2 separate regions of the Homo sapiens genome follow, and region 1 is linked to region 2. The links are contacts of gene promoters, found by promoter capture Hi-C in human tissues and cell types (Jung and others, 2019). All regions are on one chromosome and are shown on one strand. The core of a region is centred on a gene start or on the middle of the fragment in contact, and the rest is flanking DNA. Distances in the headings are between cores, read along the strand shown. Region 1 holds the start of MIB2 (MIB E3 ubiquitin protein ligase 2). Region 2 holds the start of TMEM240 (transmembrane protein 240).

Region 1 (2,700 bases), core at 20-2,519, 75 kb before region 2:
GAACTCAGAGAGGAGACGCGGGATTACTCACCACTCCCCTCCACTCGCATGCATGCTCAGACACAAACACAGCCTCTCTGACGTGGCTTCCACGGAGCCCCAAAGTGGGAGAGCCAAGTGCAAACTATCAGGCCGCGGACGATCAAGAGCTCACCTGTCCGGCCGTCCAGTCGCCCGCCGGGCCGCCTTGAGGCTCCTGGGCTGCAGCCCTGATGCCTGGAAACTTTGGGACTGGCCTCTAGCCTCGCTGGGCTTCCAACCCTGTGGCCGAGGGGAGATGCCAAGATGCACAGTTAGCACCTCGACCCGCGGCTCGGTCGCCTGTCTGCCCCCGGGGCTGCCCGCCGGCTCCAGGTCCACTCGGGCCCACGGCCGCGACACTCAGGGCCGCCGCCTGCCCGGATGGGCTCCCTGGGGTCTGAGCGCGCAGGAGCCGCCAGCGCCGGGCCCGTAATTGCGTGCGCCCGGGGTCTGGCGGCCGCGGCTCGCAGACGTCAGGAGGCTCCGGGACGCGCACGGGCGCCGGCGCAGGGGAACGGGCGGGCCAGGGGCGGGCACGGCGGGCACCCCCACCCGGAGCGCGCCCCGCCCCCTGTCATTCGTGCCCGTGGCTCGCGGAGGCCGCCCGGCCCTGTCCGCTGCCAGACCTTGCCAGGGCCGCGCAGTACCTGCCGACCCCAACTTGCCCGGACGTTTCCGTCCCGCCCGCTCCGCTCGGGGGCGCGGGACCGCCGGCCAGTCCGTCTGTCGGTCTGTCCCGGCGTTCGAGGCCACCCACCGGCCCCGACTGCTCAGCGGCGGCCAGGCCAGGCCAGAGCGCCTGCCGCGCGCCGCAGCCCACCCGGCCCGGACGACGACCCCAGCGCCGACCCCAGCGCCGCTGGCCCCGGGCCGCGCGAGGCCTGCCGGGAGCTGGAGTCCCGCGCGGGTGGCCGGACCACAACTCCCAGGAGGCCCCGCGGCGGCGCTGCGCGCGCAGCCCCAGCCCATCCCGTGCGGACCCTACGCCGAGTCCAGCCCGGGGCTGCTGGGCCAGCGGGAGCGGGAACCGGACGGCGCTCGCGTTCTGCCAGAGCGGAGAACGACTCGGGGACGGTGCGGAGGACCAGGGGAGGAGATCCGCGCCCGCACGCACCATCAGCCGAGAGGACGGCCCGCATCGCGCCAGTGACCTAGGAGCGACTCGGGGACGGCTTCGGGCTCCCAGGCCCTCCTGGGCCACCGGGCACTGAGGAGAGCGGCGGCTGGAAACTGTGGGACCCGAAGGGCGGGAGCCCAGGGCCCGCCCCCGCCGGAGCGCCCCCGCCATGGCCACGCCCCCGCCACGGGGATGGGCAGGGCAAGCACCGGAAGTGCGTCACGCGGGAGCGTCTGCGTCGCCTACCCTGCGTGGCGCAGCTAGGTTCCGAGCGGCTTAGCCTCCGGGCGCCTGCGCAGTGGCGGTCCTAGAGACGCACTCGGTTGCCATAGAGACGGGGGCTTGGGAGCGACGTCGCGCTCGCTGGCACTGGCGGCACTTGCCGCGCCGCAGCCACCTCTTTCCGACTCCACCAGTGCGGGCCCTATCCGGGGTTTTGAGTCACGCAGACCTGGACACAGCGAGAAACGGCAGTCCGGGCCCGTCCTCCCGCCCCGGGTTCTGCACCCCAGAGTTGGACGCTTGCTTCTCGCTTTCTCCTGAGAGAAGTCTCCGCGTTTCTGAACAATGCACTGCTAGTTTCTCATTTCTTTCTTTCTTTCTTTTTTTTTTTTTGGAGACGGAGCCTCGCCCTGTCGCCCAGGCTGGAGTGCAATGGCGCGATCTCGGCTCATTGCAACCTCCGCCTCCAGGGCTTAAACTATTCTCTTGCTTCAGCCTCCCGAGCAGCTGGGACTACAGGCATGCGCTACCACGCACAGCTAATTTTTGCATTTTTAGTCAAGACGGGGTTTCACCATTTTGGCCAGGCTGATTTCGAACTCCTGACCTCGTGATCTGCCCTCCTAGGGCTCCCAACGTGCTGGGATTATAGGCGTGAGCCACCGCGCCCGGCCTCTCATTTCTTAATTGTAGACATTGCGTACTTCCGGAGAAGGTCCCTGAGAACCTGGCTGATCTTCCCCGCTGCACCCCTCACGTGGTCCTGTTAGCTCCCAAACTGTCAACCTGAAAGGAAACCCAGAGGCAGGCTCTCCAGGACAAGTGAGTTAATCTGGGAATCGCAGGGGGTTGCAGCCTAGGCTGTTCGTGCCATGACAGATCATAGGCCTATCTGAGAGGGCCGGGCGAAGGGGAAAATACAGATGAGCTCACAAAAGTTGTTTTGTAACAAAAACCACTGGCTGTGGGCGCTTGCTGCAGGAGTGGGCGTTAGCTTGTTGTTGGAGAGAGCCTTACCAGGCCGACGTCCTTGTGCAAGCTGCTTATCTAGAATACTGCAGTCCTGAGGAATTTCCCTGCAGTAAGTCCGGTTACAGGCAAACGTGCAGGACGTGCAGGAGCGTCTTGTGAGGAGGCCTGCTGCAGGTATTCCTGCATGAGAGCTCCCCCTTCGTGGCCTCCCGACTCCATTTGTTTAGGGATTGGTGGAAGTAGTTCCATTTTGGTACCTGCAACTTTCACAGCTGTCGTGATGAAATCAGGCTTAGCTCTTCATGATTGAGTACCTGCTGTTCACTGCTACAGTATAAAACCATGCCACAATTCCTGTACAATCTTTT
Region 2 (2,759 bases), core at 158-2,657:
CTGTTGTTCATACTTTTTCCTTCCTGACATTTGTTTTTACTTACAGGTGTTCTGCTGGTGACGGTAGCATTACCCAAATAAACTGTGCATATGAAATGGGAGAGGAGATGCCAAAACGCCAGATGAAAGCAATCAAGTTTCTTCTTTTCCACTTTTACTTATGAGCAGGATATTGATTACAAAGTTTTTCTTCTTTAACCAAAAAGGAAAGACAACGGTTTGTGTGCACTTCCCGACATACCTGTGTCTTCGTGTGCCTGCCTTCCCTCCCTCCTCCCCACCGGGCCGGACTGTACAGAGCCCTGCTGCGGCGTGTTAGGAATGACCTGGAATTGTCAATAAACAGATGCTGCTGTCATTGTGCCTGGTCCTGAATTCCTGGCCCGACCCTCGCCCCTGAGGAGGTGGCAGAGGCCTAGCCCTGCCGCCCTCAGTGACCTCCGACCACTGCTTGGGAGGAGTAGCTCAGACCTGGTGGTGCTGACAGGGTCTGGGCCTACCCGTGCCTGTGCTGCCTGAAGCGGAAGCCGCCTGCTCCTGCCACAACTGCTGCCTGTGGTGGAGCGGCGTCCCCTCTCCATGTGGAACCCCCCCGGGCGGGGATCCCCCAAGGCCAGCTACGGGGGAGGCTGAGCCGGGAGGATCGCCTGAGCCCAGGAGTGGAGGCTGCAGTGAGCCTGGATGGCGCCACGACCCAGGCTGGGTCCCAGGCATAGCTTCCCGCTGACTTCCTGCTGAGGCCGGGGGTCGGCTCCCGGGCCTGAGACATGGTCACCGGTCGTGGATGAGAGTTTGGCCTCAGGACCCCGAGCCAGGGACAGCCACAGCGGAGTGGTGGCCACTGGGCCTCTGAATGGCCGGCGTCCCGACCCATGGGCCTGGGCTGACCCCCTCGTCCCCGCCCTAAGGGAAGCCTGTGCGGGGCGGCCCTGCCCTCGGCTCCTGTGCCACATCCCTCCGTTGAGGATTCCAGGGGTCATCCCGTCCCTGACCTGTGGCCCCCACGGCCGTGGGGCTGTCGCGACCTTGCGGACCCCACCCTGGAGGCACGTGCGTGCCGAGCGGACTGGGGCAGTCCCGCACCCGGCGACCTGGGAGTCCAGGACGTAGGGCGGAGCAGTGGGGCGGGAAGGGCCTCGGCGCCCCTCCAGGACCGGAGGACTGGCGTCCAGGGTCACCGGACAGGCCACCGGGGCTGGGTCTGACCAGACTGGGGCGGGACGCGAAGCCGAGGCTCCCGGGGAGGGGTCCCGGCCGGCGTCCGGGGGATGGCGGTCTCCTCCCGGCGCTGGCACGGGGCGGCCTGCGGTCTGCGCGGTCCCTCCCGAGAGGCGGAGGAAGGCGGCGGGGAGGGAGGGGGGAGGAGGGAGGAGGAGGCAGGGAGGGGGCCGGAGCCGAGCGGAGCCGAGTCGAGCCGAGCCGAGCGCATCGCAGGGAGGACCCGAGGGCGGAGCGGAGCGCGGCGGGCCGGGCCGAGAGACCCCAGAAAGGCCCCGCGTCCCTCCCCGGCGCCCCCCCCCCCGCGCCTCCTCCCCCCGGCCGGTGCCGGGGTTGCAGCGAGCGGCGGCGGACGATCCAGGGAAGCGCTGACCTCTGCGGAGGCGGCGGGGGCTCAGCATCGGGCCGGGGCCGGGGGGGCGCCGGGGCCGGGGGGCGGCGCTCCGGCCCGGCCCGGCCCCGCCCGATGTCCATGAGCGCGAACACCATGATCTTCATGATTCTGGGGGCGTCGGTCGTGATGGTGAGCGGAGGGGCTTCCCGCGCGCGCCCCCTGCTCCCCGCCCGCGCGCGCCGCCTGGCCCACCTCCCGCGCCTTGTTTACCGCCCGTGCGGCCTGCGCTCCCCTCCCCGGCCTGCGCTCCCCTCCCCGGCCTGCGCTCCCCTCCCCGGCCTGCGCTCCCCCACCCCGGCCTCCGCTCCCCTCCCCAACCTGCGATCCCCACACTCCCTACGCTCCTCTCTCCGGCCTACGCTCCCCCCACCCCGGCCTGCGCTTCCCCCTCCCCGGCCCGCGGTCCCCTCCCGGGCCTGCGCTCCCCCCACCCCGGCCTGCGCTCCCCTCCCCAGCCTGCGATCCCCATACCCGCTGCGCTCCCCCTACCAAGGCCTACGCTCCCCTCACCCCGGCCTGCGCTCTCGCTCCCCGCTTGCGCTGCCCCGACCCCGGCCTGCGCTCCCCACCCCCAGCCCCGCTTCGTCCCGCCCGCTCCTTGGCGCTGACCGGTCATGAGCTCTTCCAGGCCATCGCGTGCTTGATGGACATGAACGCGCTGCTGGACCGATTCCACAACTACATCCTCCCGCACCTGCGGGGCGAGGACCGCGTCTGCCACTGCAACTGTGGCCGGTGAGTCCACAACCGGCGCCGGCTCGACACGCGTGAGCGCACATGTGTGGCGGGGCCCACTCGGGGCGCGGGGGAACCAGCCCCACGCAGGCCGCGAGCCGCCTTCCACCCTTGAGGGCTGCCAGGTGCGCAGGGGGAGGAGCTGTCTCAAGGTGGGCGGGGGTCTCCTGGGGGCGCATGGCTTTAGGACGCCGTTCCTAGAGGCCTCCAGGGTGATGGCGGAATGGGTCACGGGGCCTCCTGGTCCAGCCTGGAGGCCGGAAAGCCGCAGCCCAGTGTGATGTCCACAGTGGAGACCCAAGCCAGCCTCATCAGGGCTGGGGCAGGAAGCGCCTGCTGGCACAGGGCTGGGCCCTGCACTGAGTCCCTGGGCAGGGGAATGCAGGTCAAGGCGGGAAGGGCCTGCCTTGAG

The links. The method cuts DNA at HindIII sites, captures the fragments that hold promoters and counts their contacts. A contact is called where the count stands out against the background at its distance.
Region 1: the fragment with the promoter of MIB2 here is called in contact with the fragment with the promoter of TMEM240 in region 2 in 1 of the 25 tissues and cell types used here (adrenal gland).

The regions. Positions count from the first base shown.
Region 1 is chr1:1,614,069-1,616,768 of GRCh38, reverse strand. MIB2 (MIB E3 ubiquitin protein ligase 2) reads right to left here and starts at 1,269. Exons shown (of 20, transcript NM_001170687.4): 1 at 1,136-1,269; 2 at 155-261. RefSeq lists silencers at 335-424, 455-1,504 and an enhancer at 1,605-1,774. The HindIII fragment of the contact is 4,042 bases long and covers 1-2,700 here.
Region 2 is chr1:1,539,272-1,542,030 of GRCh38, reverse strand. It overlaps TMEM240 (transmembrane protein 240), which reads left to right and starts at 1,407. Exons shown (of 4, transcript NM_001114748.2): 1 at 1,407-1,741; 2 at 2,241-2,347. The coding sequence starts at 1,685. SSU72 (SSU72 homolog, RNA polymerase II CTD phosphatase) reads left to right here. Exons shown (of 5, transcript NM_014188.3): 5 at 1-358. RefSeq lists a silencer at 2,528-2,759. The HindIII fragment of the contact is 20,414 bases long and covers 1-2,759 here.